2 separate regions of the Homo sapiens genome follow, and region 1 is linked to region 2. The links are contacts of gene promoters, found by promoter capture Hi-C in human tissues and cell types (Jung and others, 2019). All regions are on one chromosome and are shown on one strand. Each heading gives the region's core, a stretch centred on a gene start or on the middle of the fragment in contact. The rest is flanking DNA. Distances are from core to core; before and after follow the strand shown. Region 1 overlaps IMPG1 (interphotoreceptor matrix proteoglycan 1). Region 2 holds the start of IMPG1 (interphotoreceptor matrix proteoglycan 1).

Region 1 (5,600 bases), core at 1,044-3,543, 45 kb before region 2:
AGGAAAAATGCAAAAAACTCTCCAAAATGGTTATGTTTGACTCCAGTGTTTTCCGTAAGCATCCTTTTTTTTGTGGTCCTGGGGTTCTGTGGTAGGCAAAGCTGGTCTTTGGGGTCTAATGTTGTAGTTCCATTCCACTTACACTGTGTTCTTGACATCAGAGATAATTGATGACATGATCTGTGACTGAAATATTCTTGCTAAAATCTCAGACCCTCAAGCCTGCATATCCAGAGTCATTAAGCTTATCTAATAAAGTAACTCTTGTGGTTACAGTAATGGGAAAGAGATAGATTTCTGGGTAATATAAATTTACTAAATCTGTATTCTGGGCACAGCCACTGTCTGTAATGGTAACTAGCCAGGAAGTTGGGGGTAGGTTCTCAGTGCCATGGAATGATGATGTGGAAGAGATTCTAGGAGCAGATCCAAGGTCATGGTGGTAGAGCTATTTGTGTATAATATTGGCCCATTCTAACAAGCTTTACTTAGAAAGGAGTAGTGGTGAGAGAGCCAGGTGGGAGGAGGTCCCCCCAAAAACTCCAACTGGCCTGCCCTCAGGGATGGAGCCTTGGGAAGTTTGTGCAGTTTGCAGTGGGGAGGAGCCTGGCCCCTCCTCTTCCTGTGTGGAACCTGGGATTCAAGCTGCATGCGGGAAGCACTCTAGCAGGGACTCTGTGCGGGAAGCACTCTAGCAGGGACTCTGCGCTAGCAAGAGTCCCTATTTTCCCCTTTTCTTCCTTTTCACCCAATAAAACCCTGCTTTACTCACCCTTCAAACCATCTGCAAGCCTAAATTGTCATGGCTGTGGGACAGACAAGGACCTTGTCTTTAGCTGAACTAAGGATAAGTCCTGCAACATTTTTTGGCGCCCAACGTGGGGCTCGAGAAGTGGTGAGTGAAATGGGGACTCAAATCCTCTCGCTGTTGCTTCTAAGCCTTTTCATCCTTGGACTTCTCAGGGTGGGGGAAACCATGCCCCCATACCCCATTGCTCCTGGGCCTTTTCATGGCCCTTTCCTTCCATTCTCAGGGTCAAAAAAGGAGCAGTGAGCAGCAGCTCCCCGCTGCTCTCCCCTCCCTGCTGGGGCTGGGACGTATGGTCCAAGGGTCCCACACAGCTGGCTGGCTTGTTCCCAGCTATGCATCACCACAGCAGCCTTCTGCTTCCCTGGACAAAGGGTTCAGCTCCATCGGACAGTAATTAAACTTTTCTCCCTGGTGGAGGAACTTGCATAAGAGTAAGAGGTTCTTCCCCAGGCATTTTTAAATGTTTTTTTTTCTTTTCTCTTCTCCACCCTGTCTGCAGTTAACCTTTAAAGTTCTTTTTCCCCTTTAGCAGGCCAGACCCCCACCCCCAACAACTATCACTGTGTTCTCTGCAAAGTTTTGGTTGTTAAATCAAGCCTCCATTTTGTTATACATCCTGAGGGCATGGCTTGTAACTCCAGTGGCAAGACTTTGCCTTATGGAATGAGCCCTTTCTGGTTCAATATCTGCATGTTTTTCTAAATCTGTCTCTTAAATAGCCCCATTCAGTGACTAGGTTTTCTTCTGCCTCTCTGTGTGTGTACTGTGTGTAACGTCTGTCAAAGAGCTGTAATTAATTTGGCCTAAAGAAAGACAAGCACTTGGATCTAATTTTTTTAAGGGAAGTTAAAAGCTGTAGTACCTTGCAGTGCATGTGACTTTACTCTTTAAGAAATAAAAACAGCCTTAAAGATTATTGGTAAAATGAAGGTGTCATTAAAATGTAAATAGGTGAACTAAACTATGCAGGTCAGATGCAAGGTTTGCTAAGTGTTTTGAGGTTATAAACTGCTTTTTGGGTTTTGAGAACTGTCTGTCTTGTTGGCTTCACAATAGGTAAGGCCTGGGGACATATGAAATTAATTACACCCTTAACTAAAAAGGCAAACCTCGGCTGCAGTCAGCACACAATTAAAGTAACTTACCAGGTTTTACCTTAAAGTTAAAAATTGTTAGGAGTTAACATTATACCATGTAATTGAAACTACTGAAATTAGATTTACATGTAAGGGGTGTAAGAATAGTAAAATGTGTTTTTATAGTAAAAGGTTATAAGAAGGCATGGAAATGTAAACTTTGGCCTAGGGTTAAAGGATTGTATTAAATTATATAGAAAAAAGCTGAAGGTTCAAAGAAGTGCTGGAAGAATTGTGGAAATTACTCTTGCAGAAGAGGTTCTTTGTGTGAACATATTGACTATTCAAAAAAAGGTATTATATGGTTTTTTCCGTAAATTGAGCATTGAGATAAAACCATAACAAAATTTTCTTCAGGCACTAATCTGCTCTTTGGCAAAATTTGTAAAGGGTTATAAAAGGTTTTTGCTTCTTTAAGATTTTGGAGTCATCATTTTGGCACAATAAATAATTTATGGCTATCTGGAATTATGTTTCATAATATCAAGTGCTTTAGACATATTTAAAAGGCTTCTCAAAATCAAACTTCAGTTTCAAAATTGTCCTTCCTGACACCTGGCTTTTTGGATAGTCCAGAGAGCCCCTAGAATGTCCAGAAAAGAGGTAAGCAGGATTATTCAACATATTTAGGTACCTGGGATTGTCAAAATCATGTTCACTCTTCTTTAGTTCATATCTTGGTAAATAATGCTAATCTATGTTCCAAAATTCTATGGGATTTCAAAAATTCTAATATCTAAATGTATGCTATCAATCATAATTAATGTTGTTAAGTTATTGTAAACCATGGAGATAACCAAATTTGTCAATTGTGTTCCTAACTGTAACTACACTGGACGTTTTGCTATTCACAGACAATTGCTGTCTTGTTTTCATCCTTTTCAAAAGATAGTTTATAATAAGCTGCAGGACTTTAACAGGTGCTCGCAAATACATGATTCTGTTAACTTTGGAGATTGTAACATTGGAATAAAGGAAAATGTACAGGACTCATGAGGAGCTGAAATGCTCACGAATATCAAACCAAACAAGAGTTAATTAAATGGACAGAACTCAGAAAGCTGAAGCAACTTTTGACTTTTTCTTGGAATACTGCTGATCCTTGTTTTATTTTTCAGAGTCAAGGAAACTTATTTTGAACTATTTATAGCCTTTAACAAGTAAGGGCCGGACACGGTGGCTCACGCCTGTAATCCCAGCACTTTGGGAGGCCGAGGCGGGTGGATCACAAGGTCAGGAGATTGAGATCATCCTGGCTAACATGATGAAACCCCGTCTCTACTAAAAAATAGAAAAAATCAGCCAGGCATGGTGGTGGGTGCCTGTAGTCCCAGCTACTCAGGAGGCTGAGGCTTGAACCTGGGAGGCAGAACTTGCAGTGAGCCAAGATCGTGCCACTGCACTCCAGCCTGGGTGACAGAGCGAGACTCCGTCTCAAGAAAAAAAAAAAGTTAAGTAAGGTATACTCCTGGGGTGAAAATTTGGAGCATGCTTGTTTCTCTCTGCCTGGTTCCTTTCGAATTTGGAAACTATCTGTGAGTATTCTTAACTTACGGCAATATAGTTGTTTGCATCAGTGCAATAAGAATCCATTTTTCTTTTGCAACAAGACACAATTGGAAAAATTGGGTATTTTATCAAGGGTTTGACTGAAAGTGTATGCTTCCCTTTAAGGAGTCAATCTCAACTTACAGAACTAATAAAACTCAGTGGGGAAACTGGCCTAATACCCTTGTCTATGCAGTCCCTGTACAGGGTTCTTGACCTATGGTCAGTAAAGAATGTCACTTTCTAACAGGTCCAGGAGCTCCAAGTTTATCTTTGGACCTTAAGAGGAGGGGATCACCCAACTCACAGGCATTTGAGGATACAAACCCAGAGCTGGGATCAGCATTAAAAGGTCTCACCTGAGAGTCCTCGTGGAACAGACTTCCATCAAAGCCAATCCAAAAGGCTTATGTAGAAATAATTATTCTTGCTGCACTTTATGCAAATAATTAGGCCAAGTTTAAAACCAAAGTCTATTTGCAAACAACTCAGTCCTATTATGATTTTGTTTTTAACAAAAATGAGGACTGGAGAGAGGGAAATTATGTTTCAAAACTTATCATACATTTGTCATTAAATTCTAAACTCATTAGTTGTTTTTAAGATTTTGCCTATATTTTAGACTAACCCTGCTTGTTCCTGTGAACCAACCAGCAATCTCTGGCTGCAGCTCAGAAAGAACAAGAGGGATGGGTAATGTAGAAATCTGGATCAATATTCTGGTTCTGAGCAATTATCCTGCAAATCCTGCCAGGTGATGGAATAAATAGGGAATAAATAGGGTGCCCATCACCTGGAGGTTTCATTTTTGGGGAAGTAAAGACCAAGGGAACTAACCAAAGCCAAGCACCATGCACCTAAATTCTAGCAAGCATAACTATAGCTACCAGTTATCTTGGTGTGTCACAAGACATCCTTTTCTCTCCCTTGTTGGAGGACTCACTTCCACAGTTTCACCTTAGCATTTGGCTTTTGATAAGGAGTCCATGTAACCCCCCGAGACATATTTTTGTCCCAAACTCAATTCCAAGCTTTAGGTAAAAGCCCTAGGAAGGAAAACTGGATCTGAGGTATCCAGAGGCAAATTACAACGGAGGTTAAAAGGCACAGTGCAGGTGAGCATGGCTGATTCCTGTCGATTAAGCCAACCCCAAGCTTCCTGTTTCATGGATAAAGGGCATGTTAATATCTATGGTATAAATGAGGTCTAGGGAATTCCAAGGCTACTGACAGTAGCAGGGATAGAGACATAAGGGAGAGCAGATCATTCTTATTCTCTAAGGCCCTCCCTGCTTGATGGGTGTAAGCTGCTTTGGCACTCATGGTGGGACCTGACAAGGTCACTGGGATTCGGGGATGCAAGGATGGAGGAGGGAAAGAGGATGCTTTTCATTCTCTCTCTCATGTATCTTGGGCATATGTTAGGAAGAGAAGGAAACCAGAGATGCTTGCTCCCCTCTTTCTAGATGGGTAGCCATTCATCTTCAGTCTGTACCCCTTTCAAATGCATCCTGAACCCCTGGGAATCCTTTAAAAAATGCCTTTTTCTCCTTTCTCCTCCTCTGTTCTCTCTTCACGGATAGGTAATACGCTCCCCTGAGATGCATCCTCCAAACTGGAAAGAGTTAATTTCCCAAGCCTTAAACTGGTTGTCTTAGGATTGGGCTCAGGGGAAAGGAACCCAGAAGCCCAACATGCTGGCAAAAAGGGCCATCAGACTCCAAACAGTCATGCAACCAGAGCCTCGGACAATGGCCCCTTCTGCTGGGAATCCTTAAATAGGCCTCTGAGGAAGCTCTGACTGCTTTTCCCCAAATCAGCAGCCCCTGTCAGCAGGAAGCAGTTAAGATTGGTCTTTGTCTTTATTCTTAATCCAACAACTGTTAGATGTACTTCTTTAGAGTGGGGAATGAGACAGCCAAGTGGGGAGGGGGTCCCTGGAAAAACTCCATCCAGCCTGTCCACTGGGGTAGAGCCTCTGGAAGTTCATGACATTTGCAGCGAGGAGGAGCCTGGCCCATCCTCGTTTGGTGCGGAACCTGGGATTCAAGCTGTGGGTGGCAAGCAGTCTAGTTAGGTGAGTGTCCCTGCTTCCCCCTTTTCTT
Region 2 (5,841 bases), core at 741-3,240:
ATGGAACTGGAGGCTGCTCTCTTAAGTGAAATAACTAAGAAACAGAAAGTCAAATATCACGTGGTCTCATTTATAAGTGGGAGCTAAATAATGTATACACAAGAAAGACATAGAGAGTGGAACAATAGACACTGGGCATTCAAAAAGATGAGAGAGTGGAAGGGGAATGAGGGATGAAAAATTACCCAATGAGTACAATGTACCCTATTCAGGTGATGGTTACACTAAAGCCCAGATTTCACCAGTGTGCAATATATGGGTGTAACAAAACTGCACTTGTACTCCCTAAATCTATATTTAAAAAAAACAAGTAACATGTTAGGATTTTTTATTATGCAATTACTGGACATTGTTTCCTAGAAGTAAGCATATAACAAATGGCAGTTTTCTTGATAAGCTTATTTCATTTCAATTCCTATATGTATAATATATTACATATATTAAATTATATGTATATGTAATACATTAGAATTATAATTATATGACATATAATTGTTATATATAAAAATTATATATAATTATATATTTGGAATTGTGTATAATAGCTGATATGCAATATATGAAAATAGAAAAAATCGTTAAATTAACAGAATTAATGTAACAAAAAATTTAACACAGCTGAATTGCTTGATCAAGTCTACGAAATAGTCAAATTGGTTTACTTCATCAGATTCAGTTCAGAATATACCAAAATCTCATTATTTATTTCTAATTAAAATGATTTTATAAATGTAAATATTTATATATAATTGATAATTTAATGAAAAAGTAAATAAATTTTGCTTCTTTCACTATTGTGAAAACATGAAGAAATCTTTTCCAGAAATTTTTTTCTCCCTCCAAATGCAATCACTGAGAAGTTTCATATAACATGACTGATGGAATCACAGTTATTTTGTGACTTACACATGCAATGACTATTAATTTTACTTTTTCATGGATATTCCAAACCAATACTTTAGTTAAAATGTTTATCATCATGAAGCTATGTCATTCTTAAAGAAATTCTTAACCTTATTGACTTCAAATGTCTTAAAAAGATTGAGTATATTATGATAGGTAGGCTTATCCTTATATAAAAAAGTCAAACTTTCTCCAACATGTGTGTTTCTTTTTTAAAACACACATTATTTTTCTTAAAACATCCTGTTTGTGGCTTATTTTAATTTCATATTCAGATGCAGATTTGCCATAAGAACATACATTGCCTAGTTCTTTTATGCGTACAACTTCAAAAACAACCAAATTTTGAAGTGGTTGTCATCATGAACCCTGAAGATGAAGAATGTTTGCTATTTTCTAAGGGAAAGCAACTCATGATTTCATTGTGAGAAGGTAAGAAATACTTACTTTTTTTTGTCTGACCATAAATGACTTAAAACATTACTTTTATCTTTAGGTTTTATTTGTTGAATTTCGGTGGATAAATGGAGTTAGTTTCACAGATCTACTAATATTATTTACATTAATAATAAGAATTTTCAATGAATGTTTTAGAACAGCAAATAGGATGCATTCATCTCTCCTATTTTGTTAATCTTCACTGCACTTAAGACCATGTAGTAAATATTAAATCAAGTGAAAATCATTTCTGATAGTTAATTATTCAATCAATCAAGCAATATTTATTCAAGGCCTACTATATACTAGCCCGTGAGATCAATTGGTAGCCTTGTTGGTTCTAAATATTCACTTCTATCGGTAGATTTTATAGATAAGCAATTTAAAAGTAAACATTTAAGTAACTTACCTTTGGTTCCTTGAACTTGGAGAAAAATCCAAAAAACAAAAATAGCTCTTCTAGTTTCCAAATACATTCTGGCTTTTGTGCATTGGTAATTCTGATAACAATCACAGAACAACCTCAAATCTCATTAAAAAGTAACAGAAATGTGAAAAATAATTATATATTGATACCAGATGATTGAGGATAACCTTCTTGGTTTACCTTTATGAGGGTGTTAATTTATGAAGAACATGTAGCAGTGTCTGTTTCTGGAATAATCTGCTTGTCTTTCCCTCAGGTGTAATCTCTGCTTAAGGGCCAGCTGGAGGAACCTTTATCTCATTAACCTTCTGGAGGAGCATCTGTCAGCCTAGCTCCAGGACCCTGAATGCCATTATAAACAAGTGTCTACAGACACAGTTTTTTCTTAGTTATTCACCTGTTACAGTGACACAGAGAGCCAGGGGAAGTTCTGCCAAACAGAGAATAAGGCTGACAGTTAGGGTCAGATGTTTTCTAAAATGACATGTACAAGAAACATCCATTAAAAGAGCTTAATTTCTGTCCCTGAAAGTATATGGTTATCCAATATGTATTAGTCTCCACAGATAGCGAAACTGTCTCCATTCTCTTCTATGTTCTGCTTTATAAATTGCTTTTGATTTGGAATTACATACAGGTGGCTTTTTTGATTTAAGTCTGGTTTTAATGTTTAAAATCTGTATGCACTGTGTTTAAGGGGTCAAATACTTTTTTTCTACAAAGTTTGTAAGAAAAAATTGTGCCTTTCTTCTACCCATGCCTTCTTTCAAAGGGGAGCCATTTTTACTTCATCAACCTAATTCTTCTAGTAGTCTCATTTGCACTTCTAAATAACATGCCTCTATTACTATTTTGGAGGTTTTCACTTTTAGGTATTATCAAATAATAGATATTGAGAATAACTTCACTTCCACACATACCCTTTCTACTCATTGTAAACATCTTTCCATCTTTCTTCATCAGTATTATTGTAATTTCAGTTTTTGAATATTTGATTTTATATTATTTTGACTATACATGCTACATATTGCTGAGTCATGAAACACACTGCAACTACTACTGTATATGGAGCTCTTGTGTTGTGGATAGACATTGTTCTTAGAGATGTCCATAGATTATCCATAGATTCCTCAATATGACAATATAAACACTGTTAATACTATCTCTTTTAAATTTGAGGAGAATAAAGTATATGTGGCAGAGCTAGGATTTAAACCTAAAGAGTCTGGTTCAAAAGCCTACACCCTTTTTTTTTTTTTTTTTTTTTTTTGAGATGGGGGTCTCACTCTGTCACCCAGGTTGGAGTGCAATGGCGTGGTCTTGGCTCATTGGCTCATTTCAGCCTCAACTTCCATGGGGTCAGGTGATCCTCCCACCTTAGCCTCCTGAGTATCTGGGACTGTAGGCAGATGCCACCACACCTGGATAATTTTTTGTATTTTTTGTAAAGATGAGGTTTCACCATGTTGCCCAGGCTGGTCTCGAACTTCTGGGCTCAAGTGATCCAGCAGCCTTGGCCTCTCAAAGTGGTGGAATTATAGGTGTGAGCCACGCACCTGGCCAAGAGCCTATACTCTTCACCACTATCCTTCTATGATACTTTTTGCATAGTCTCATTAAAAAAAACTTTTTTTAGTTTCTAAATACAAAATAATAAATTATCCCCAAATATTCCCCTGGATATGTAAATCTCTTCACATAAACACTTCAAATAGTCTGTCTTTCCCAGGGCTTTCTAACCCTCTCCAGTCTGTATTATTTAATTTCTTGTCATTGTTCATAGCAGTCATCTGGGGATTGCCCTTCACAGTCATCCTGAGGATTCCTTCAACCTCTTTCTTGTGTTGGATCTTGTGATTTCTGGATCCTGTATTGTCTTCTTTCTTAACTTAATCTCTTGTTTTAGCGGAGCAACTGCTCTAGTACATTACTGAAAGTTTGTGGTAGGTAAATTTAAAATCTTACATGTTTGAAAATGGTTTCCATCTGCCCTCATACTTGTTTGATAGTTTGGCTGGATATAGAATTCTGGGTTGAAAACAACATTCATTTAGATATTGAAAATGTCAGCTGTAGAAATTCTAAAACTTTATTACTGTTGTCTTCTTTCTCGTGGTTTGTTGTGGCTTTATACTTAAAAAAATTCCTTAAATATTATTTTCTTGGGGTATTCAGAGGTGGTCAAAGGGAATGGATTTTTAGCTCTTACCTTCAACTACAGATTATTTTGGTAATATTTAAAGAAAACTACCATCAATCGGTATATAAGCCTGCTTATAACAATGTATTTGAAAATGAGAAATGAACTAGGTGGAAGATGAATCTATTTTTCCCTAATTATATGTAGAAAAAATGATATTAGAATGCAATAGACTAGATACATACTTATACATAAGTATTTCTAAAATACATTCATATTAGTTGAAGAAATACTTCTCTCTTGGTTTGCTATATAGTTCTATGTTATACTTACATTTCTAACCCTGTTATGAAACATTTCTTCTTTCTCTAGGAAAGAAACCAACAATTTCAATTTCCGAAAACAATTTCCTCTTAATAGTTTTCTTAATGAAATGTGTTGCTTAAAGAAAAATATAGGATAGACTAATTTGTGTTCAAGAAGGTATCCTCTATCATAGATATGAATATAAAAGTATTTAATTTGTTTTAAAATAACAAATATTTAAAAGTTTCTCTTGATGGCAGTACCTTATGCATTTTTCCTACTTTTGATGAAAAATCTGGGTAACTAATGTTGATAACTCCCACTTAGATAGCAAACAAGAATGATAAGCATTCATTATTCCCAAGACCATGCTTTCTGGGACCATCAAGTTGTTCTCTAATTACTGTTGTGTTTAATTTTGGGTCACTGTTAATTAATCCAGAATTGCTTCTTCAAGGTGGTTGACTGTCAACTATAATTGTATATTCTTAAAGAGATAGGCTTTCCCCTGTATTTTCTGGCAGAATTTCAGTGGTGCATTTAAAATGTACAAGGTAGAGTGGAAAAGGCAGTGTATCTTTGCAGATATATTCCTTCATCTGAAATCAGTAGATATAAATAATAAGTTTTATATTAGTAAATTTTCACACTGCTATAAAGAACTACCTGAGATTGGGTAATTTATGAAGAAAAAAAGTTTGACTAACAGGCAGGCTTAACAGAAAGCATGACTCAGGGGTTGCAGACAACTTACAATCATGGTGGAAGGGGAAGAAAGACCTGTCTTCTTATGGCGGCAGGAGAGAGAGAGGAACTGGGGCAATGCCAGACTTTTAAACCATCAGATCTTGTGAGAACTCACTCGCTATCATGAGAACAGCATGGGGGAAACTGCCCCCATGATCCGATCACTTCCCACTGGGTCCCTCCCCTGAAATGTGGGGAATACAATTTAAGATGAGATTTGGGTGGAGGCACAGAGCAAAACCATATCATGTTTACCAAAATGAATAAGTTAATATCACAAAGAAATGATTCCTTTTGTTAATCAAAATAGACATAATTTTTTGAGTTCCTATTAAATATAAAACTCTCAATTAAGTGCTTTATATGCATAGTATGACATTTTCTCAGCACCCTCATGAGGTAAGTACTATTTTTTAATTAAATTTTATTAGAGATTTTTTATTTTTTTGTAGAAATGGGGTCTCACTCTGTTGCCCAAAGTGGCCTCAAACTCCTGGATTCAAGTGATGCTCCTGTCTTGGCCTCCCAAAGTGTTGGGATTACAAGTGTGAGCCACTGCACCCAGCTCTCAAGTACTATTTTTATTTACATCTCACAGATGAGAAAACTGAGAGTTAGAGATGGTGAGTACATTATTCAACTATGCAACTAATAAAACTGAAGCAGGTTTTCCACCCAAGATCTCTCTACTTTCAAAGCCTATGTTCTTTCTACTGCTCCTCACTATGTTCTCTCTACAGGGAAAACATGCTGAGAAAGTAACTGATACTCACTGGACAAGTTAATGACACTGAACAGAAGAGAAGCCATTGAAAAGGCAGGGTCCTATCAAAAGTTCACTGTTTACATTGATCTTTTCCTTCACATTACATCTACTGAC

Evidence for each region. Contacts are between HindIII fragments. The study calls those that stand out against the background at their distance.
Region 1: a fragment that was not itself captured here is called in contact with the fragment with the promoter of IMPG1 in region 2 in 2 of the 25 tissues and cell types used here (pancreas and spleen).

The regions. Positions count from the first base shown.
Region 1 is chr6:76,025,436-76,031,035 of GRCh38, forward strand. All of the region lies in intron 4 of IMPG1 (interphotoreceptor matrix proteoglycan 1), which reads right to left. Among named protein-coding and RNA genes, the nearest start is that of IMPG1, 44 kb to the right of the region's middle. The HindIII fragment of the contact is 4,590 bases long and covers 1-4,588 here.
Region 2 is chr6:76,070,672-76,076,512 of GRCh38, forward strand. It overlaps IMPG1 (interphotoreceptor matrix proteoglycan 1), which reads right to left and starts at 1,991. Exons shown (of 17, transcript NM_001563.4): 1 at 1,751-1,991. The coding sequence starts at 1,817. The HindIII fragment of the contact is 12,797 bases long and covers 1-5,841 here.